2 separate regions of the Homo sapiens genome follow, and region 2 is linked to region 1. Evidence: promoter capture Hi-C in 16 types of primary human blood cells and fetal thymus (Javierre and others, 2016). All regions are on one chromosome and are shown on one strand. Each heading gives the region's core, a stretch centred on a gene start or on the middle of the fragment in contact. The rest is flanking DNA. Distances are from core to core; before and after follow the strand shown.

Region 1 (6,804 bases), core at 1,954-4,453:
AAGACCGAATTGTTACGACCAGAATTCAAAATAACAAAAAGGGAGGGTGAACCTGGGAAGGGAACATTAAAAAACGATTTTTTTAAAAAAGCCATCATGCTTTTGCATAGCAAAGTATAATTTCTTGATTATAATGCCAAGCTAGGAGAGGCCCACAGACCGCGGGGAATCTCCTGCCTTTTAAAAGCCTAACAAAATTGCACATTCAAACACAGATACCATCCATCAAGCAAAAGGCTCCTGGGCAGAAAAGTAGGCGCCGGTTTGCTGTTCTCTCCAGTGATCCCGGAGATCAAGGCGATAGACTGCCCTGGGAAGCCAAGGAGGCACTGAGGAGTGTCCACTGGTAGCCTATGGGGCTGGAAGCTAACCTGGGAAGTCAAGGAGGCACTGAGGAGTGTCCACTGGTAGCCTATGGGGCTGGAAGCTAACCCCCCTCCCTTCTGCAGTTTGTCCCCCTACCTGTGTGGGTTCGCAGGTGTGCCTTGAGATGGGAACTCTTTGTGTAGGTTTTGCCGCAGCCCGCGTAATCACAAGTGTGGGTGGCGGTCCTTTTCCGGGGCCACGATCGTCTTCCCCTCTTTGGCTTGGGCTCCTCTGGCATGCAGGAACCGGGTGGCATGAGCTCTAGGGGTGAAGAAGGTGGGGTGAGCATCATCCCGTGTGTCCCGAAGTGGGGCCAGCACACACAGGGCTCCCCAGCCCGAGCTACAAATCCCCGGGACTGACCTTGGTAATGGAGCGGCGGGACTTGCGGCTGCATCTGATCGGGCAGGAAGGATGGGTAATTGGGCCCCGGGTGGGGATGGAAGCCGGGAGGAAGCGGCAGGGCAGGGTGACAGTCCCTGCTGCTCAGCACTTCCTCAAGACCCAGGGTCGGGGTAGTCCTGCTGGGGAGCTGCCGCCCCAGGGGGAAGTCGTGTGCAGCCGGCCGGTGGCCATTGCTGAGAGGGGGTCCAGCGCCCAAGTGGGTGCACGAAGAGACCGCCTCCTGCTTGATCTTGGGGCACGTGCGCGGCGGCCCGCCGTTGTAGGGCGCCACCACCACCGGGTGGCTGCCGTCAGGGCTGCCTTTGCTGACGCTGATGACCGACGGGCTGCCGTACTCGCTGCCAGGGGCGCTCAGCGACGCCTTCAGCACGAACTTGCCCATCAGCCCGCCACCTGGCGGCTGCGGCTGCTGCGGCGGAATGTACACCGGGTCCAATTCTGGCCGCAGGAGCTCGGCCACGAAGCCGCCCGAGGGGCTCACGTCGTTGATGTCCGCCAGGTTGAAGGGAGCCGTCGGAGGGGGAGCGGACTCCCTGCCATAGAGGAGGCCTCCGCCCGTGCCGCCCGGCGCCACGCCCGGGTCGTTCCCGGCCCGGATCGGATAGGTGAAGCTGCAGGTGGAGGGCGCGCTGGCAGGGCCGCTGCTCGACGGCGACGACGAAGAGGAGGCTGACGCTGACGAGGACACGGTGGCGGCCACTGACTCCGGAGGATGGGTCAGCGAATTGGAGAGAATAAAGTCCAGGTCCAGGAGATCGTTGAACTCCTCGGTCTCTCTCCGAGGTAGGGGCGCCAGGTTGCTACCGCCGCAAGCCGCACCGGCTCCGCCGCTCTCCAGGTCTGTGGCCACGGTCGCCGCCGCCAGGTCATAGGGGCGGCCGGGAAGCACTGGGGGAAGTCGCTTCATGTGGGAGAGCTCCTCCCGCCAGCGCTGCGGGGACAGGGCGGGAGAGACCTGTCAGTGGTGGTCCCCTGTTGCCACCCGACATACTGACGTGCTGGCGGGCCACGCGCGACTGCACCGCCCAGACATGGGGACTGGTCAGGCAGGAAGCACCCGGGAACCCAGGGCGCCAGCGCTGCAATCTCGGCCCACTCCCGGGTCGAAGAAGAGGTGATGCGTCTGTATTGCGGGTGTTATGTCCTGTCTGCCCAATTGCGTGTGAGCGAGCGCCGCGGCTGGTCCCTCCCCCTCCAGGTCCCGTGGACGTCCCCGGAATTGGCACACCGAGGCTCTCTCGGTGCGCTCTCGCCACGGGGCCGCCTACGCGCTAAACTCACTCTGGCCCAGCCAGTGTCTGGGGACGCGGCCACCTCCCGCCCGGTGGCCCGAGAGCGCCCGCCCTACCGACAGCGCGCCCGGGGACTGGTGAAGACCCGGCTTGCGCCCCAGGCGGCTCCGCAGTGCTCGCACCACGGGCATACACAGCTGAGCCAAGGACACGGAAGCTATCCCGGGAAGGTTGCGGAGTCCGCGCGGTGGCCGCTCCTTACCCTCGTTCAGTGGCTCTTGGTGACCCCAAGGCTCCGCCCGCCCCCACCACACCCACGAAAACCCACCGGGCGTTCCCGGCGGCCCGGAGCGATACTCACGTTATTCGGGGCACCTGCTTGACGCAGTGTCTTCTCCCTTCCCGCCGGGCCAGACGCGAACGTGGAGAAAGATGGGAGCAGCGCGTCGCTGACAGCCATGTCAGACTCGCCAGGTGGCTGCCTGCGAGCAAGGCAGGGAGCGGAGACAGGAGAGTCAGGGGCGGCTTTCGGCCGTCGTTCCGGCGCGTCCCACCGGTCCTCACCCCTCCCTGCTCCCAGCGCCGCGCGCCTCACCTACCTCATTAATGTGGGGGCCCAGAAGGTCCTCGGCAGCCCGAAGCAGCTGGGGCACCTGAACCCCAAAGTCAACGAAGAGAAGAAACGAAGCCAAAACCCAAAACCCCAAATTGGCCGAGATCCTTCTTCTTTGGATTAAATATAACTTGGAAGCGTCTTTTTTAAAAAGTTCCTTTGTATACAAAAGTTCTTAGAAAAGTTGTAAACGCAAAAATAGACAATCAGCAAGGCGAGTAAGTAGGTCCGGTGGCCGGGCTGCGCTCTCTTCCACTCAGCAGCGTCCCCCACCACTGTCGCGGTCGCCTCGAGTGCTGCCGTGGGCGCAGGGGCTGTGGCCGGGGCGGTGGGCGGGCGGTGCCGCCAGGTGAGACTGGCTGCCGTGGCGCGGAGCTGCGAACTGGTCGGCGGCGCAAGGCGCGGACTCCGGTGAGTTGTGTGGAGCGCGCGCGGCCATGGGCGCGGGCCACGGGCGGGTGGGAGGGTGGGGGGCCAGAGGGGCGGGGGAGGGTCACTCGGCGGCTCCCGGTGCCGCCGCCGCCCGCCACCGCCTCTGCTCCCCGCGCGCCCGCAGACACGTTCGTTCTCTCTGGTCGGGAAACTGCCGGCCGCCGGCGCGCGTTCCTTACTTATAACTTCCTTCGCTACAGCCTTTTCCTCCGCCTTCTCCCATGCCCCGCCCCTCCCTTTCTTCTCTCCGCCCCCCCCGAGGCTCCCTTCCATCGTTGCTATGGCAGCTAAATCAACAAACTCGGCGCACGTGGGGGCGGGGGAGGGGAAGGAGGGGCGCGGGCGGGGCTGGGCCGGGCCGTGACGCCAGCCAGGCAGCTGGCGGGCTGGAGCCGAGCTGACGCCGGCGGCAGTGGTGTCGGCGGCGGCGGCGGCGTCCGCCCCAGCGCGGGGCGCGAGGAACCGGGCGCAGGTTCGGTCGCTGCGCGACCAGGGCCGTACTCACCGCCATTGTCGGCTCCCTGGGTTCGAAGCCCGCGAAGACTGGTGGGGTCAGCGGGCGGCACGGTCACGCGTCCGCACCCCTGCTAGCATACGCGCTTGCCGCGCTGTCTGCGCGCTGGAGAAGAGCGCGATTATCCGCGTGACTCATCCAGCCCTCCATCTCCCCCTCCCTCTCTGCGCTCGCAGGAGTCCGCTCTCGTCGCTCAGCGCCAGTGCCGGTGGCGGTGCCGGCGCTCGGCCTGACCTCGCACGGTTCCTCGCGGGCCCTTCTGCTGAGGGGTGGGGGGCGCTAGGGGTGTGGAGAGGAGGCAGTGCCCAGCACTGTGCAGCGTGAACTGGGAGCCTCAAGAGAAGGCCAGAGGAGTGTTCCGCCGGGAACAGGCGGAAAGAGGCACGAATGGGGAGTTATGGTTTTGATACTTTAAATAGCGAGAAAGGGAGTGAAAGGGCTCAAGATTTACTCAGAGGCATAAGGGAGAGAAGAGGGACTGTGAGGCGCGGAGACAGTTTTCAACCAGCCATCTCGAAGCCCTTTCCTTTTTTTTTCTTTCTTTTTTTTTTTTTTGTGAGACAGAGTCTCGCTGTGTCGCCCAAGCTGGAATGCAGTGGCACGATCTCAGCTCAGTGCAACCTCCGCCTCCTGCGTCCAAGCGATTCTCCTGCGTCAGCCTCCCGAGTAGCGGGGATTACAGGCGTGCGCCACGACGCCGGCTAATTTTTGTATTTTTCGTGGAGACGGGGTTTCACCATGTTGGCCAGGCAGGTCTCGAACACCTGACCTCAAGTGATCAGCCTGCCTCGGCCTCCCGAAGTGCTGGGATTACAGGCGTGAGCCACTGCCTGTAATATTTGATGACTAAATTGCACTGTAGAATAATAATAATAATAGAAGACACCCATTAAAGAAGAATTAAACACTCACTGATGACTTTTCAAGCCACGCACTCTCCTTTCCACTTTATGGATGAGAAATTGAGTCATAAAGAGGTGAAATGGCCAGTAAAGGTCAAAGGACAACTCGTTCCTTCGGCTCAGGCTCCGGGTAGGTCAGGCCCCCCTAAAGGGACTTCCCTGGGAAGTGACCATGTGCCAGGAAGTGGAGCGATGCGGTGGGATCCTAGCTCTCAAAAAGTGCACACCGAGCCCGCCGCAGGCGTCCTTGCCCACCGGGAAGGGAATAGGAAACGGCGATCTTTACTTCAATCTTATAACGCTGCCTCCCCCACCCCCACTCTCCCCTTGGTTTGTGATCAGTAATTTTCCAGCTGGGAAATGTTTTGCTCTCATCTTCTTAGCAAACAGTATTTTTTTTTAAAACGTGAATGTGGTGTTCGGTATCACTTTCTAAACGTAGGTTTGGCGAGGTGTTTACTTTGGATTCCGGCGTTCGGCGCGGGACTCCGCCCCCCTCTCCACGGAGCCCCCTCACCGGCGAACGCTGGCGCTTAGGCTGGTGTCAACCTAGGAAAGAGAAGAGAGGGGACACTGGGGAAAGTGGTGGAAGCTCGGGCACCGGGCAGAGAGTGCGCTCACCCCTTTTTGAGTTCTAGTTGCCAATGTCCTTTGTCGTTGTCACCTGTTTGAACCCTGCGATTCTGGTACCTATTAGGTTTCCTCAGAATATTTGTGATACCTGATTTTTCCACTCCTCGCCGACCACAGAAGCATTCTTGGAATGCATCTCGCCCCGAATGAATTGACTCGGCCCTCCCTGCCAACGCCAGGAATCCCTCTAAGATCCAGAGTCGGACGCCCTTGAGTGTGACTTCCATCCTCTAGCTTGGCTCTGGCCAAGGGCTGCCAGGGTTGCAGCTGGGGGATGAGAGTGTTTTGGCAGGGAAACCGAGGTCCTCCTTCCTATGACCTCGAGGAGTTCAACCCCACCCCCCTATATAGGATCAGGCCAGTTACTTTAACTCTGATTTTTACTTTAAGCCCTTTTCAAACGGAGGAACCAAAAAAGGAAGACACCTGCCACTTCCTCCCCTACTCCTTTAATTGTGATGGCAACATCTTGGGATGCTGTGATTTGAGGGCTGCATGGGAAACTCACCACTTTTTCAGGAAAGCCAAAGTCCCTCACCCTGGATGAACAGTGGATGAGCCCTTGATTGGCAGCCATCTCCCTTGGGATGTAAACGTGGGTCAGGACTTGGAATTTCCAACTTAGGTAGGCAGCACACTAGATTATTTCTGCTTTACTTTTATTTCTCTAAGGCAGTAGCCCTTCCCCCTCAAAAAAAAAACTATCTGTAACCACCACAATGAAAAAACAATATTGCACAGAAGAATTGGAAAGCCACCATTATTATGTCACATAATCAAGACAAGATTCTGAAACTCGATTGAAAAAGATGAACTTGTTTCCAACCGGCCTTCTGAAGGATAAAAGCCAGTCTCTCTTCGTGGCAGGCAACTAGCTGGTTATTCCTCTGATTGCGTCACAAAGGGAAATCTGTATATTCACCCCAGATTTCTAAAAGAAGCAAGAAACTTCAAGTTCACAAATCATCTCTCAAGGCAGGTGCCCTGTATGACAACAAGGTTATGGCCCTCCCTGTCTTCAGAACAGGTAGGGCCAGAAGACTTAAATCCTTGCCCTATATAATTTATAAACATGAGGCTGAGTAAACCTTTGATGACTAAATTGCACTGTAGAATAATAATAATAGAAGACACCCTTTAAAGAAGAATGAAACACTCACTGGTGACTTTATTTCAGCAAACTGATATTACTAGTTTTGTGGACTAGAAGTTAATTATTAATGTCCTTGGAGTTATAAAATAATTTTTTTTCCAGCACAAACTGCATTAGTTGTCAGAAGATGTGATGAACACCATTAGTGCTAGGGGATTAATGTGGAGCCATGGAGGGGTGTGATAGACTGAAGAAGCTGCATCCATGTTTCAAATGAAAGATTCAGCACCCATAACTGGGTATGGGGTCTGGACACATAGAGCACCCCGTGACCTGGCTGCACCCTGGCTGGGTGTCTCTGCATAACTGCCGCAGGACTCAAGAAAAACTCAAAAAAAAAAAAACTTTTTTTTTTTTTTGAGACAGAATCTCACTCTGTAGCCCAAGCTGGAGTGCAGTGGCGTGATCTTGGCTCACTGCAACCTCCACTTCCAGGGTGGAGGTGGAAGCAGTTCTCATGCCTCAGCCTCCAGAGTAGCTGAGACTACAGGCGCGTTCCACCATGCCCAGCTAATTTTTTGTATTTTAGTAGAGATGGGGGTTTCACCATGTTG
Region 2 (6,804 bases), core at 1,732-4,231, 140 kb after region 1:
CCTCCCGCAGTCCTGGTACTCTCCACCCTCCCCACCATCCCTCCATATCTTGGCACTATAAGTTCTACACCCTGGGAAACACCTCAGCCCAGGCACACTGGTATGGTTAGTCACTCTACTAAAATCCAAAGGCTAAACCCCAAATCTCTTCCATGACTTAAAAGGCTCTGTGTGATCTGACCCCTGACCTGCCTCATTGTGCACCCCTCTCTCCTTGCTCTTGGGTCCTAGACTGTGCTCCTGTACCACCCAGAGCATCTGTGCATATCATTGTTCCCTTTGTTGAGACCATTCTTCCTCCCCTTTTTCTTAACTCCCTCACCCTTCAGATATCAGATTAAACATCCCATCCTTTGCTCAGAAAAATCCATTTTTTTTTTTTTTTTTTTTTTTTGGTATGGAGTCTGGCCTGTCACCCAGGCTGGAGTGCAGTGGTGCAATCTCGGATCACTGGAACCTCCGCCTGCTGGGTTCAAGCGATTCTCCTACCTCAGCCTCCTGAGTAGCTGGGATTACAGGTGTGTGCTACCATGCTCGGCTAATTTTTGTACTGTTAGTAGAGATGGGGTTTCTCCATGTTGGCCAGGCTGGTCTCAAACTCCTTACCTCAAGTGATCCACCTGCCTCGGCCTCCCAAAGTGCTGGGATTACAGCTGTGAGCCACTGCACCTGGCCAGAACAATCCATTCTTGACGTGGCCAGAGAGGGCAATGTGACCCCCATTACACACTCTCTCAGTATTACCCCTCTTTCAGCTCTGTAGCTGTTGCAGTCGCATGATTAGTCAGTGTTGGTCTCCTCATGGAGAATATAACTTGAACACTAGCTGGGACCATGTTTATCTTATTTCCCACTGGAGTCCCTGGCCTTCACCTAGAGGGTGGGATGTGGTCAGTGTGCAATGAGCAAGCTGCTTGGGTGCACCTAAAAACAGAGGCTTTGGCCATGGGGCAGCATAGCCAGATGTGTGTTCTAGAGAGAATGTTTTGGCGGCTCTGTGGAGGATGGATGACAGAACCTCTGCCTGTGGAGGGAGGCTGGTTAGGCATTTTGGGTGAGAGAGGATGGTGGTATGGATTGGGAAATCAACCAATGCTTCTGAGGATGTCGCCATATCCCTATGAGGTAGACTCTTCACAGCGCGGAGACCGACTTCACAGGGGCACTAATGACACTGGAGGAAGTGAAGATATTTCCCAGGCTTGGGGCTTGGGGGCCTGGGTATCTGGTTGGAGAGTCCCATGTTTAGCCATGATAAATTCTGTCTTAACTATGGCAAATGTAAACCAGTCAGTGTGACTGTCGTGATGTCTTGAATATCTGGTCCTTTATATTTTTGTTAAAACTACATTTTCTGGGCTGGGTGTAGTAGCTCACACCTATAAATCCCAGCACTTTGGGAGGCTGGAGGGAGGAGGATCACTTGAGGCCAAGAGTTTGAGACCAGCCTGGCCAACATAGTGAAACCCTGTCTCTACTAAAAATACAAAAAATTAGCTGGGCCTGGTAGCAGCTACTTGGGAGGCTGAGGCACAAGAATCCCTTGAACCTGGGAGGCGGAGGTTGCAGTGAGCCAAGACTGCGCCACTGCACTCCAGCCTGCACAACAGAGCAAAAACAAAAACAAAACAAAACCCAGCACAAAAACACATTTTCTGGCATCCTCCTTGGATTCATTTTATCACCTTCCCCTGCAACCACCTCCTCGACCCCCAAGTCCTGGCAGAAAAGAGCAGGACCCATAGTGAGTTAAAGAGAGGGATACTTTTTTTTTTGAGACAGAGTCTGGCTCTGTCACCAGGCTGGAGTGCAGTGGCGTGATCTCAGCTCACTGCAACCTCCAACTTCCTGGTTCAACTGATTCTCCTGCCTCAGCCTCCCGAGAAGCTGGGATTACAGGCAGGCGCCACCAAGCCCAGCTGATTTTTATGTTTTTAGTAGAGAAGGGGTTTCACCATGTTAGCCAGGATGGTCTTGATCTCCTGACCTCAGGTGATCCAGCTGCCTCGTCCTCCCAAAGTGTTGGGATTACAGGTGTGAGCCACCACGCCTGGCTGGAGAGGGATACATTTTTAAGACTCACATAGAGTGCTGTTGCCCAGGAAAATGAACACGACTTGTCTAGGGTTAGGATGTCTGGGTTCTCCCTCAGCATGGTGTCTCACCAGCTCTGTGACCTTGGGCAAGTCCCTGTCCCTCTTTGGGCTTCCCCACCCCCACTTCTACAAGGAGCTGAAATTATGCGGTGGTTCTCAATACTGGCTGCATATTAGAATTGACTGAGGAAATTTAAAAAATACAAATGATCAGACCCTGTTCCCTAGAGACTCAGATTACATTGACTTTTTTTTTTTTTTTTTTTTTAAAGCTTACCAGCTAATTCTTAAAAGCAGTGAGGTTAAGAAGTATCCAATCACATGATCTTGGACACTATTCAGCTCGGTGAGTCTAACCGAAGAATGGCCCCATTTAGACCCCAAGGGCCCCCTGGTGAGACCTGCCTTCCATCTCTGCACTCTAAGTCACCTGCACATGCCTCGTGGTCCTGGACTTGAACTTAGGCTCTAGGGTAGCAGCAGAGGCGGTCTTCTGCTGAGGCTAAGAAGCAGAAATGCAAAGTCTGTTGAGAGAGGGGGATGGGTAGGAGCTGTGTGAGGAGGAACAGATTGAAGCTATTAACATTTGATCAGTTTGGTATTGTTCTTCTGGAGACCACAGCTTATGCGGCTGCTTAATAAATGTCTGGTCAGGGTCCAATCCAGAGCTGCCAAATGGGTGTTGCTATGGTTTCCGAGGAGTTTGTTTCCCACACAAGTTACTGCTTCCCACCCCAAACTGTGAAACACCAGAGTCTTCCCTCTGCTCCTTAACTCTGTCCCTTCCTAGAGGAGCCTGTGGTGAGAGAGAACATCTGCCTGGGCCTGGGGGACACACACGGGTCTCGTGTGACTGGCCGTCAGTGGCACCTGCCTGTGCCAGCTCCCTGAAGCAGGCCTTGTGCCTTCCCACTCTGTGCAATTTCAGGTGGGCCCATCGCTCAGCTGGTGTCATCTCAGCCTCCCAGATTTTAGGGTCTCTGCATCTGACCCTGTTGTCCTTGACTGGAGAAGAGGGGTGGTCAGAGGCTACGTTAGCAGGCAGTGTGTTTGTGTGTGTGTGAGTGTGTGCTTGTCAACACGAGCCAGTGTGGGGGTTCTCGTGACTCAACACGTGAAGATAAATGTGTGAATGTGTATGGATGAGTGTGTGTCGGTGCTTGTGTGTACTTGTCGGTGTGCGGAGTATGGCTCTGTGTTTGTCAGTGTGTATGTCTGGTGATGTATGTGTGGATGGCAAGAACTGGGAGTGAGCACGGGCAATGCTGCTAAATCTGAAAATGTATTATGACAGATTTACAATAAATGAACACTTACAAAGTCCAACATACAAACACTCGTGTAAATGCCATCCAGCCTAACAGATAAAATGTTACCAAATACAGCTTAAACTTTCCCTGCGTTCTTTCCTGATTGTATCTCCCTTTTCCTCCCTTTTCCTCCTGTTGTGAATTTGTGAATTGATCTTTCCCAGAATGATACACTCTGTTTCAATAAGTAAGCTTCTTCCAGTGTTGAATCTTTCTCTAAAACATAGTCAATGAAGTGTGAGTATGGTGTGTATGTGCGCAAGCCCATATGTTGGGTGGCTGTGAGTTGTTGGGGAAGACTGGAGAAAAAGAATTTGAAAGTGCTCTCAGCATGCAGTGGCATCTTCTAGATGTGTGACGGAAGGGAAACTTCCTAACCTCTCTGAGACTGTTTTTCATCTATAAAATGAATGAGATGAGAATGAAATTATATAAGATGTGTGAAAAGAAATGGCACATAGTTGGAACTCAACCAGTTCTGATTTTTTTAAAAAAATGTATCTATTAAAGAGGAGGCAAGGCCAGCCAACCTTGCAGAAGGAAAACAAACAAATCAGACATACATTATTCAGGGGAGGTGGAGGTGTGCTGGCTTGAGCTGGATCCTTCCCTCCCTCTCTTTTTCTTTTTGATTCCTTAGGACTTTCCTCTTTTGGAGCGGTGGTATGTCAGCACAGTGGAAATTCGAATAGGGGCAGTTTTTGTCCCAACAAAGGACTGGACTGTGATGGAAGGTCCCCTGCCTGTTCACTGCTAAATAGAACTGCATGTAAATAAGATCATTTGAGCTGTGGTGGGTTTTGAATACACAACCATCAAGGTAAATGAGCATTCCAAAGAAATCCTGGCTCTCAGACAATGCCTGAGTTAAAATGAAACTTGCTTGAAAATTAAAGCCAATGTTCAGGCTTCAGGTCATGTGAGGAAATGGGAGGCATTTGCCGGTTCATTCACCCATGCGCTCATTCACCTAGCTGCATCCTGGATTTACAAAGGTGGAAAGGATCATTCTAGCAGGAGAGAGAGAGACAGTGAGGAGTTAAAGATAAGACATTTGCTGCTATCTCGGAAAATATACAGCCTAAGTGGAAACGCACAGCAACCCTCCCTTGCTTCTGTTCTGACTGTGTCTACTATGTGCCTCAGACCGGCTAGACACCAGGAGGAACAGAGAAGCTGAAGACATGACGTGCCAACCAGCTAATGTAAAGATAGGATAAGTGTGAATAAAGAGTTGACAGAGGAGGGTTAGAAGGACACTGCCATTTATTGAGCACTCACTTTGTACCAGGCACTATGTGGGGGTCTGGTGGGTTGTGGGGGTAGCATTTAGCCTAAATTAACCATTGCAACAATTGTTGAGTCAGTATTATTATCCCTGTTTTACAGGTGAACAAACTGAGTCTTAGAGGGGTTAAGGTCTTTGCCTGGTAAACATCAGCACAGGGAATCAAATCCAAGTGTTTCTGACTTTCCAGCCTAGCACTGGTTTTTGCAAATAATTCTGTGGCAAGAACTATATGACTAGCGTGAGGTAGTTTCCAGTGAATAAGAAAGCAAGAATCTGGCCGGGCGCAGTGGCTCACGCCTGTAATCCCAGCACTTTGGGAGGCCGAGGTGGGCGGATCACAAGGTCAGGAGTTCGAGGCCAGCCTGGCCAATATGATGAAACCCCGTCTCTACTAAAAATACAAAAATCAGCTGGGCATGGTGGCGCATGCCTGTAGTCCCAGCTACTCGGGAGGCTGAGGCAGAAGAATTGCTGGAACCCGGGAGGCAGAGGTTGCAGTGAGCCGAGATCGCACCACTGCACTCCAGCCCGGGGCGACAGAGTGGGACCCCATCCCCCCGCACCCCCCCCCAAAAAAAAAGGGAGCAAGAATGTGGTACTGACATGAGTACTGAGAAAATCCAAATCCAATGCAAGATAAAATGTTTTGGTTAGCATTTATCTAAGAAAGTTTTGGAAAGCAAGTTGTATATTTGGCTTTGAAGAAGTAGTCCTTTCATTCCAGGAACCTCAGCTTTGTTATTTTCTGAGGCTATGGTTTAAATCACATATTCCTGGTACATTGTGAAGAAGTTTCTTGAGACAAAGGCAAGAGGGAAAAAATATGATCTGTCATGGCATGGGAGCTGAAATTCAAGTTTTAAAATCACTTCTAAACAGCTCTGAGCTTCTATGATTTGCTAGAATCACAGAAAGACTTATGTAGCTCAAGTTGGAGAAAGCATGTCAAGATTGCTAAGGCTGCAAAGAGATTTTTCAATTCCTTTTTAGTTTTTAAAATTATTATTAAATTAAAAAAAAATGAGCCCAAGATGAGCTCCACAGTTTCCTCAGACGGGATTAGATATGACTTTCAGGTTTTCAAAGTTCAATTCAATTTGAGTTTCCTGTGTCCTAAAAATGTCTTCAATTAAAAGCCAGAAAAAAATGTATTTTTTTCATCTTCATCAAACTGAAGAAAAAAAATGGCTGAAGGGATTTTATTCAAACTTTTCCCCAAAATTCACCTTTTGCCAAGACCCAGCATGGAAAATTTCAGCGCAAAAGGATCACTCTTTGGCAAGTTCCCTGAGCTAATGAAAACAGAGGGGCATAAAGGGAGTCTGTGTGCAGCTCTAACTATAGTGGTCACTGCAGCCCACATTGTGTGAGAAGAAGGGCCTCATTCAATAACCCCCCTTTTAAGTCTTTTTTATCATCAATATGGATGAGACTTAGATTTGACGTGGTCACCAAACAAAAGGCCCTCACTTTATGAATACAATCTGGGTAATGGCATTATTTCAAGTGGCTTCGCTCAGTTATGACTGGCTTTGGAATAGTTATTGTTGATTCATTCATTCATTCATTCACTCACTCATTCATTGTACAAGTATTTACTGAGTGCCAGCAATGTGTGAGGCACTTTAATACATGTTGGGAATGCTATGGTGGCAGGCATAAGCGAGGCAGTTCCTGCATTCGTGGGTTCGTGGGAGGAAAAGAAAAACAGATTAAATTACAAACTGTGACAAATTCTGTGAGGCAACAGAAGAGGGTGCTGAGATAGAGAAAACCGGGTTTTGTGGTGATAGGAGGCCTACATTGTACTGGAGGCTAGTGAAGGTCTCATATGCATTCATTCATAATTTAGCAAACATTTAGTGAGTGGCCGCCATGCTCTGGAGTCTATACTGATCTAGACACCATTTTTGCCTTCAAGGTGCTCCTAGACCAGTGGGAGAGCAGGCAGGTAAGTAAAAAGCTCAGATGCTGGGTGACAAGCGCTTTAAGGCAGGCATGTGCCATATCTAATGTGGAAACAGGAAGGAGATCTAAAATGCTGCGGTTGGTGGTGGTCAAAGAAGGTTTCTCTCAGGGGGAACGATTCAACAGACATTTGTGATAG

The links. The method cuts DNA at HindIII sites, captures the fragments that hold promoters and counts their contacts. A CHiCAGO score of 5 or more calls a contact.
Region 2: a fragment that was not itself captured here is called in contact with the fragment with the promoter of KLF4 in region 1 in 1 of 17 cell types (monocytes); the score reaches 5.7 in monocytes.

The regions. Positions count from the first base shown.
Region 1 is chr9:107,486,566-107,493,369 of GRCh38, forward strand. KLF4 (KLF transcription factor 4) reads right to left here and starts at 3,204. Exons shown (of 5, transcript NM_004235.6): 1 at 2,603-3,204; 2 at 2,365-2,485; 3 at 730-1,702; 4 at 463-627. The coding sequence starts at 2,607. RefSeq lists silencers at 2,016-2,065, 2,717-2,916, 3,276-3,485. The HindIII fragment of the contact is 11,219 bases long and covers 1-6,804 here.
Region 2 is chr9:107,629,238-107,636,041 of GRCh38, forward strand. It overlaps LOC105376205 (a long non-coding RNA gene), which reads left to right. Exons shown (of 9, transcript XR_930217.2): 8 at 2,369-2,442. Among named protein-coding and RNA genes, the nearest start is that of KLF4, 140 kb to the left of the region's middle. RefSeq lists an enhancer at 3,063-3,700. The HindIII fragment of the contact is 1,230 bases long and covers 2,367-3,596 here.